2 separate regions of the Homo sapiens genome follow, and region 2 is linked to region 1. Evidence: promoter capture Hi-C in 16 types of primary human blood cells and fetal thymus (Javierre and others, 2016). All regions are on one chromosome and are shown on one strand. Each heading gives the region's core, a stretch centred on a gene start or on the middle of the fragment in contact. The rest is flanking DNA. Distances are from core to core; before and after follow the strand shown.

Evidence for each region. Contacts are between HindIII fragments. The CHiCAGO score rates a contact against its expected background, and 5 or more counts as called.
Region 2: a fragment that was not itself captured here is called in contact with the fragment with the promoter of OR6C70 in region 1 in 1 of 17 cell types (neutrophils); the score reaches 5.3 in neutrophils.

Annotation. Positions count from the first base shown.
Region 1 is chr12:55,467,319-55,472,205 of GRCh38, forward strand. OR6C70 (olfactory receptor family 6 subfamily C member 70) reads right to left here and starts at 2,820. Exons shown (of 1, transcript NM_001005499.1): 1 at 1,882-2,820. The coding sequence starts at 2,820. The coding sequence ends at 1,882. The HindIII fragment of the contact is 2,936 bases long and covers 1,191-4,126 here.
Region 2 is chr12:55,254,493-55,259,379 of GRCh38, forward strand. It overlaps OR6C74 (olfactory receptor family 6 subfamily C member 74), which reads left to right. Exons shown (of 2, transcript NM_001005490.2): 2 at 1-2,133. Among named protein-coding and RNA genes, the nearest start is that of OR6C74, 12 kb to the left of the region's middle. The HindIII fragment of the contact is 4,681 bases long and covers 287-4,887 here.

The sequences.
Region 1 (4,887 bases), core at 1,570-4,069:
GCATCTTTTCTTCCATACTCTACTAGGTGGAGCGGTCACTTATTTTCACCCAAATTCAAAGAAAGGAAACTTAGAATCCACTTCTTGGAAGGAGTTTCAAAATTGTATTGTAAGAGCATGTTGGAAGAGAGATACAGTTGCTTTACATTTCCTTAAGATAACACAGTCTACCAAAGAGGTGAAAGTGGTGAACAGAACATGTCACTTTATTTCTCATTCGATGAGCTTATACAGATAATGAAACATGAGAAGCTTCTGCAGCACACTGCCATATGCATTTAGCTTTTCCAGTTTTTCTGGACAAAGTGACGCAGTAATCATTGTCTTGATATTTGAGGGAAAAAATCTGTCTTTTTGACTTTGCATACATCTTTGTAAATAAACTTATCTTCTTGTAATTTACTGTGAAGATGAGTCCACCAGGAATCTTGTAATAAATTTTGTCTTTTTATGTTTATTTTTCTCATTGCCATTAAAATTAACTGTCAAATATTTTCAGAAATATTGACTAGGTAAATTCATGGTAACTATAGATATACATAGAAACAAATACCACTGCCACATTTCAAGGTAAAGTAGCTTAATCACCCTCATAGTATAATTCAATTGGTATAATGGCATATCCACATATTTATCAGAAAAATATAGAGTGTGATATCTAAGTGCTCTAGCAACTGACACACGTGAGTAAAAAAGAAAAGCACATAGTTTCATATCCCTGGTTTGGAGGAAATGAAACATAAGCTTATTTTTAAAACCAACGTTTCATATCTCTGGTTTGGAGGAAATGAAACATAAGATTATTTTTAAAACCACTCAAATTTTAAGACACTGATATTCAATATAATGTACTGTGGGAAACTTGGGCAAAAGTTAAACTAATAATCATGTGACAGGTAATACAATTCATTATATATTCCCATTTACTTAACACATTAATTGACATGTTCAAAAATTAAACTTGCTTATATGGTCTTGAAAAACATTGTGTGTGAAATCAACTGCTTGTGATTAAAGCCATATTTTATTCTCTACTGCAATTTCTAAAATCTGTCCAACATAAATAATAAATATCACATACATGAAATGTATGATTCCCTTCAAAGGAAATTACGCTTTTCTGTGTTGACAATTGACAGTTCGAAAAGTTCACTTTACAAAATAATTTTCTACATTATTTTTAAGGAGTAAGCTTTCTTGAAACATTTTAAATATATTTTTTAACAATGACAATATTTGATTTATCTAAGACTTTTAAAGAACATGGCATTTAACTAAAACAAGGTACATTTCTTTAAATTACTTAGCATAAGATCTACTATTTAATAGCACAACAGGGAGACTACAGTCGATAATAACTAAATTGTATATTTTTAAATAACTTTAAAAATGTAATAGGATTGCTTGTAACTCAAAGGATAAGTACTTGAGGGGATGGGTACACCATTCTCCATGATGCATTTGTTTCACATTGAATGCCTGTATCAAAACATCTCATATACCCCATAAATTTATACACCTACTATGTACCCGCAAATTTTCTTAAATAATTTTTTAATTTTTATAAATTATTTAGATCAAACTCTTGAAGAACTTATATTCTATAATCACTGAAAACCACTCATTTATTTTATTCTAACATGCTTTTAGAGAAAATCAATTTTGCAATTGTTTTCTTTCTAATACAGAAAGGTTTGAATACTGAAAAAGAGAAAATTAAAGTCAGAATGGATAGAATGAAAAACGTTCTGATTGTTGGACAAGCTAAAGTCATACAAATAATTGAATATTGGGTATCAATTCTTAAACTAGAAGAGTCAAATTAGTGTTTTGTTCAAAGATCCTTTTATGTTTTCATGTTAATTATTTCAACAAGTTGTATTACTTGTCTGAAGCAGAAAATATCTTTCTAAATACAGCTTTGAAGGCTTGTTTAACTTGCTGATTCCTCAGAGTATAAATAAATGGGTTTAACAACGGGGCAACTGAAGTATTGAGCACAGTTACTCCTTTGCTTAAAGCAACTCTTTCATTCGCTGATGGCTTTATGTAGATAAACATACAACTACCATAAGTGATGGAGACAACAATCATGTGAGAAGAGCAGGTGGAAAAGGCTTTCTTCTTTTGCTGAGCTGAAGGGAATTTCAGAATTGTCTTGATGATGTAAGAGTAAGAAAGGATTACTAAAAACAATGTGACAATAAGTGTCATCACAGCTAATAAAAAGGCAATCAGTTCCAGTAAATGTGTGTCTGAGCAAGAAAGTTGTAGGATAAGAGAAATGTCACAAATGAAATGATCAATGATATTTGAAGCACAGAAATCCAAGTTAAGACCTAAAATCAGTGGAGTGAAAATGATCAGGAATCCAGTTACCCAAGAACTGAATACAAGCTGGTAGCAAACTTTGTTACTCATGATGGACATATAACGCAAAGGTTTGCAGATGGCAACATAGCGATCATAGGACAGAGCAGCTAGAAGGAAAAATTCTGTAACCCCCAAGAATATGTAAAAAAACAACTGAGATATGCAACCATTACAGGAAATGGTCTTTTCCCTGGTAACAATGGTGATTAGGAATCTGGGAATGCAAGCAGTTGTGAATGAAATTTCCAGAAAAGAGAAATTACGGAGGAAGAAATACATTGGAGTCTTGAGCTGGGAATCCAGCAGAATGAGGGCAATGATAGTGAAGTTCCCTATCATGCTCAACACACAATTTAGAAGTAGAAATAAGAAAATTACAATCTGTAACTGAGAATTATCCGTCAGTCCCAGAAGAATAAATTCTATCTGCCTTGTATGATTCTTCATTTCTCTGTTGTGATTTCAATCAAATTCTAGGAATAAAAAGGTGCAAGGGTTGAGCTAGGTCCAGGAAAAGATACAGGAAAGTTTCCACACTTACAAACATATACATTTAAGAGGTAGTACTCCATGGATGTTGAAGATATGATATAGAACTATGCAACAGAAATTGTAAACTAGGGGTTTAAAAGTACAACAAACATCATCTCACTTTGGAAAATTGATTTGCAAAGCCCTTAATAGTTGATTTTCAAGCTAGTTTTTTTCATGCTTCCACTTCAAGATTCCACTTAATTGTAACTAATTCCAGGTTTGTCAAGTTGTAAATAAATTAGGTAAAGATCTTGGTTCAGGATTCAAAAATAGTTCATTCATTTTAAAATTATTAATTTCATCTAAAGAAAATGATGCCAGTGTAATGAATTAAGACCTAAGTTAAGGGAAGGCACAGTGACTCATGCCTGTAATCCCAGCACTTGGGAGGCCAAACTGGGGATCGCCTGGGGCCAGGAGTTGAAGATCAGCGTGAGCAACATAGGGAGATGCCAGCTTGGGTGACAGAGAGAGACCCTGTCTTTTTTGTTAAGAATTAAAAGACCTACAGTCAAATTTTGAAACTTTACATTATATTATATTAAAGTGACATTTGTTTAAAGCCCTGCTATACAGCCTTTTTCAACTTCTCTATGAACTACATATGAAGATACGGAAAAATGCCCCTAAAAAGTATGAGTTGATACCACAACAAAATAAATACTAGTTGAATCTAGGAAACTCAAAACTTAATATTATGCATATATTGCCACATTTACAAAAAAAAAGTCTATTTAGGACTTAAAAATTTTGTCTTGTGTAATCAAGACCATAGGAGTAAGAAAGAAAACAGATAAAACATTGCATCTCTTCCAAGTCGCTACAGTTACAGGTACCTACAGTCTAAACCTACTTTCTAGATGTAATACTGTGAGTGAAAAATCAGTGCTTTCTTGCCACACTATCTGAGTCCCCAACAATTATTCATGCAGGTAACCAACGACTATTAATTTAGGGAAATAATGGGGTAGGAAGGGTGTAATCATTTGAATGGGACAAAAGGATTCTGATGGTATTTTAAGTTTGTTATTGTAGGTTTCCCAGAGTATCAGGTTGCCAATGAAAAAAGTGAAGTGAGTAATAGTACAGAAGTAAAGCAAAGGTGACAGACTGCTAGGAATTAGAAAGTGGACTTAAAATCCAGCTAAGGATCTGAGAAATAACTTATCAATGGCTACTGAGAAAAAAGGCAATCCACTCTCAGGGTTAAAGTTTGGGAAGCTTCTTTATTGTTTAATAATTAATTTTTAAATGTTAAGCTGAGTATCACAAACAAACGAAAAAAATAAGACATAAGAAAGTGTAAAATGGCTAAGTTAACAGTTTAAAGTCAAAGATCTTGAAATTTTTAGAAAAGTTTAATAAAATTTGGAATTTTCTCCATTATTATTAGTTATATGGTCTTGGGAAAACTAACTTTCTTACTTTAGTTTTTTCATCTACAAAAAAAAGGTAAAATAATTCTGATCTCAGTTAGAAGGATTAATTGAGATGTATACACAACACATGTCTAATAACTTTAATAACCAGTGAAGAGATTAATAAAAATTAAGGCCGGGCACAGTGGCTCACGACTGTAATCCCAGCACTTTGAGAGGCCGAGGCAGGCAGATCACGAGGTCAGGAGTTCGAGACCAGCCCGGCCGATATGGCTAAACCCCGTCTCTACTAAAAATACAAAAATTAGCCGGGCATGGTGGTGGGTGCCTGTAATCCCAGCTACTCAGGAGGCTGAGGCAGGAGAATCACTTGAACCCAGGAGGTGAAGGTTGCAGTGAGCCAAGATCATGCCATTGCACTCTGACCTGGGTGACAAAAGCAAGACTCTGTCTCAAAAAAAAAGAAAAAAATTAAAAATGTAGTTAGAGTGTCCATTGTTTTAGTAAGCTTCAAATAGCTGCAGATATAGCAGAGCTCCCTAATCACCGAAATCTTTGGAGACTGGTGGGGGTTTCTGGATAGTGGAAAAGATATTCCATG
Region 2 (4,887 bases), core at 1,377-3,876, 210 kb before region 1:
AACTGCGAGATCAGAGCCTACCTTTGTTTTCAGCACCAAGTGACATGAGGATTTAAGAGATAAATTTATTTAGGACAGTCATGGGAACTTCATGATTTGCTGATTATTGTATAATTCAAGATAATAATTAAAGGATACAACCTTGTAATTTTCTTTCTTTAAGATCCTCAATATGGATCTTACCATGTTATAGCCTTATAGCATGTGCAGTACTTGTATTTCACATGCTTAGCACAGTGCTCTTTACCTTATACATCTACTTTGAGAAAGCTCAGCCTTAAATATAAGCTTCTTTCCAAGTGATAATATTTGATGCCATAGACTTGTAATATTCCATTTTCTTATGGTTGCAGCACTTCTCAGACCTTTCAAGATGATATTAACTAATTATAAATTACCCTTCTTAAGGATCTATTTCATGCAACCACTTGTAGTACCAAATATATCAGTTATCACTGTTAGGTTGCAATTCTCCATGGCATTTCTACACATTTAATATTATGCTTGGTCTGGATTTTTTTTTACAAAGTTGTTTTAATATCATTCAGCCTTGAAAGATCGAAATAATACCTCCCTCCAGGGCAGAAGGGAGATTTGCTTCCTGACTAGGATTATAAAATAGATGTCTCCCAGGGTGGCCAGGTTGGGCAGGTTTTCTAGCTATCTCTTTAAAATAGTGGGGGTTCCCTAAGTTCAGGATTTCACAGTTGTGTTACAGACTGATTGTGTCTGCTCTACCCATGGAGCCCCCTCTGCATTGCACCCCCTGGGGACTGGGAGGCAAAGGGAACGAGGAAACAACAGATGTTGGTGAGGATGTGGAGAAGTAGGAACACTTTTACACTGTTGGTGGGAGTATAAATTAGTTCAACCATTGTGGAAGACAGTGTGGTGATTCCTCAAGGATCTAGAACTAGAAATACCATTTGACCCAGCAATCCCATTACTGGGTATATACCCAAAGGATTATAAATCATTCTACTATAAAGACACATGCACACATATGTTTATTGTGGCACTATTAGCAATAGCAAAGACTTGGAACCAACCCAAATGCCCATCAATGATAGGTTGGATAAAGAAAATGTGGTACATATACACCATGGAACACTATAAAATATACATCCATAAAAAACGATGAGTTCATATCCTTTGCAGGGACATGGATGATGCTGGAAACTATCATTCTCAGCAAACTAACACAAGAACAGAAAACCAAACACCGCATGTTCTCACTCATAAGTGGGAGTTGAACAATGACAGAGAAGAATTTTAAATGCATATTTCTCAATGAAACTAGGCAGACTTAAAAGGCTATAAATTATTTAATTTCATTTATATAATATTCTGGTAGAGATAAATTTATAGAGAAAGTAACATATCAGTGGTTGCCAGGACTTTGTTGGAGTAAGGATTAAACGAGGAAGCATAGGGAATCTTTGGTTAGGGTAGTAAAATTATTCTATATAGTAATGTAAAGATGAATACATAATGTAGGGAGACCCCCTGAAACTATTGCTATGGAATAAAAGGTGAAATGCTCCTGATTATTGTAAATACAAAATTGCATGCAGGATTGTGTAAAGACAATGCCAGGTTGGACTGCCAGAATGAGCCAACAGCACATGATGTGCTTCCCCCTGCAGAGAGCCTACGAACGGACATGCAGTCAGGGAGGTTTCACATCACCAAGATTCCTGTCCCAGAAAAGCAGATGTTCATAGCTCTGGGAATGGAATGGGACCCTTGTGTAGAGCCTATAAATGGACGCATTGGGGGGGCACCTGTTCATATGGATAAGATAGGGCTATAAACGCCCTCATCTTGCCACAGCTCTTCTAGGCCTCTTTGGGGGTAAGGCATACTCCCTTCTGATATTTTCCGGTCTAACCGGTTGTCTAGCTTCACCTCCTGTTTCTATGGATTGTTTGTAACCAGCTTTTGCTGCAACTGTTACTGCTGATTAATAACTTGCTAATCATAGGTTATGGAAAGACTGTGTTTCTGTTTTAAGGCTCTGTTAGAAATTACTGATGCACACACTATATTGTAAACTCTTATCTCTGTATACTGTACTTCTGCATACAGATGTTATGTTAAAGAACTACTTCATCCCCATGTGACCATCTCACCTCATAATCAAAAGACCCTAAATCCCTCACTAACCTGCCCCGCCCTCACTAAACTTAATAATAAATGCTGGTATATCCAGTGCATTAGTGGCATCGCGGGACTAGAAGGCGGTGACCCCCCTGGACCCAGCTTTCACTGTCTTGTGTGTGTCTATTATTTCTCGACCTGCCAATCTGCCTGGGAATAAAGAAAGAGCCCCTCATTGCATTGCGGACTGCTGGCCAGATCCTGCAATAACATAACACCGTGCAGTTGTCAAAACCAGTAGAACTTTACAATACAAAGAATGCTTCTAATGTGTGAAAATTAAAAAAAAATCTGGGATATCACAATAGAATGTGGAAGAATTTAGCTATATTACAAATGTGTGACACAACCTCACTGAAGGGCATAGTGTAAAAAGTTGCTGACCTAAGAGAAATAAGTGGAGTCAGTAAGACTAACGTCAAAAGGAACTATACATAACCAATACAGTGAAGTTAATAAAGTTTTCTCCCAATACACATACATACTGGAACTGAATGATTGAGCAAGTGGATGGCAGATGATGGAAGCCAGTATCTCACTGCTGCATTGGGAGATTACTGATAAGGAATGACTCGTGATGGCATTTTAAACATGGTGACGGTATAAACTAAAGTTTAATTTAATATATATACAGATTGATACTATAAAATATTTATCATTGTGTGTCTAGGCGTAGGTTAATATAAACACCTATATTTCCTTGCTCTGTCACCTGAGAGTGTCTAGAAGCAAAAACAGCCCAGTAGCAATAAGCACACCCAGTGCCCAGATCTTGGTTTTTAACACCATTTTCTCATAAGAAAAATAACTAGAATCAGGCTGCTGATAGAGTTTGGCTCTATGTTTCTAATGCAGATGCTATCATTGCATGGCATATTTGCAGCTCCTGTCAAAAGTTGACTTGCTTTTCTCATGCTGGGGTAGGCCATATTGCAAGGAATGTTGCCTCCTCCTGCTTTTGGCAACTTGACTACCTTGGGTCTATTGGTAGTGCCTCACCGGGTAGATGCTGTTTTAGGTTACTGATAAGTTGACTATGGCACACAACTGTGATCTTTGACATTATCTGTGTCATGTCTTTAGATCCTCAGAGCATCTACAGTTTGACAACTTTTATTGTCCAAGCTATTCAGCAAAGGACTAATAGCCTCTGCCTCCTCATCTCTTCCTGATCCATGCACCTAGGTAAAGCAGTATGGTCATTGAATGCAGCTGTTCCCAGACTTGACTACTCATCTTCTTCCAGGGTAATGATCAAGATAAAAGTGGTTGGGAATTATACAGACTTACTTTGAAAATTCAAAATTCCACCTCAGTCATTCAAAGAATGATGTACCTTTCTTTTCCCTAAGATCAAATCTAGATAAGGCTGGTGCCATACCTTCCAGGTGGTAATTTGGACACAAGGGGGCCTAAGAAATTAGAGTTTGATACTTGTTGAAATTTAAAAAAAATTTCGTTTTTCTTCATTTACCTGACTCTTCTAGATGAAAGATCTGAATATGAGTCGGCTATGATTGGGAGAAAAAAAAAGGTGAAGCTATAGCTACAGGAATGTAGAACCCAGATTTGAAGGAAGTATAGGTAGAGAAAAAGCTGGCATATGAGGAGAAAACACCTTGTATACTCAGGGGCCATGGAGAGAGGTATTAGTAATCTTTGCCTTTAAGAAGTATCCTGGGCCCTTTCCTCCAGAAGAAAACTTCCACTCTACGTCTGCCACAAGAGCCTTAATTTTGATGGACTGCTGCATCTTCCATCCTTTACCAGACAGAGATGGCTCTGTCAGGATAACAGAGACAATAAGGTACTATTACACCACCTGCATGTCACTTGATAGTGACAGGAGGTACTGTTACACCACCTGCATGTCACTTGATAGTGACAATAAGGTACTATTACACCATCTGCATGTAACTTGATAGTGACAGGAGGTAGTCAAATGCTTAGGCAGATAGGGGCACGTCCACAGTGAAACCTCACCTCCAAGCAGAAGACAGTTTAATGCCTGAAGGCCAAGCTACAAGTTAAATCCTTGAACTGAATTGAGAACCTATCTTCCCATTGGGCGCACTTTTCTTTGATTGATTCTCACCCTTCACCTATTTTACATAAACTTACACTTTCCGAATTGGTCTTCTACATTGTTGTGCCCACCTTTGAGAGGTGTCTTTCTTTTTTACTGACCAGAGTATTGTCTTCTAGTGGGAAAAAGTTAGGCAGCTTTGCAAGTAGTCTCTAAAAAGACTGGGAATTTAATATAGTTGGGGTCCCCCATTTGTGAATTGGGTGCATTGTGTGCACATTAGGGCCTCCTCTACATTGTCCTCCACCTTTAGGGGAAAAGAGATGCTGACAAGAACATGAAGGATGATTCCGGGAAATTGCACAAACTATCTATGTTTCCATCCTTTGGCCAGAATTTATCCACAAGGTTACCATAAATTGTACCAAAGGCAAAGACATGGAAACTTCTATTAATATGGAAGAAGTGGAAAATGGTTATCTATAATGAAATGTGTTTCAGACCACTAGACAATATCCCAAGGACTGCAGAAAGTATAACTTGCAGAAAAGAAAGTCAAATTTATATAGGACATAAAATGTTCAGTTGTACCTGATGAATTAATGATGTGCATTTAGCTTGAGGTGGATTTTGTCTATGACAGGCTACGTTCTCCATTTTATATTCCCACCTTTTAGTCTCGCATAAAATAATAGTTTTCT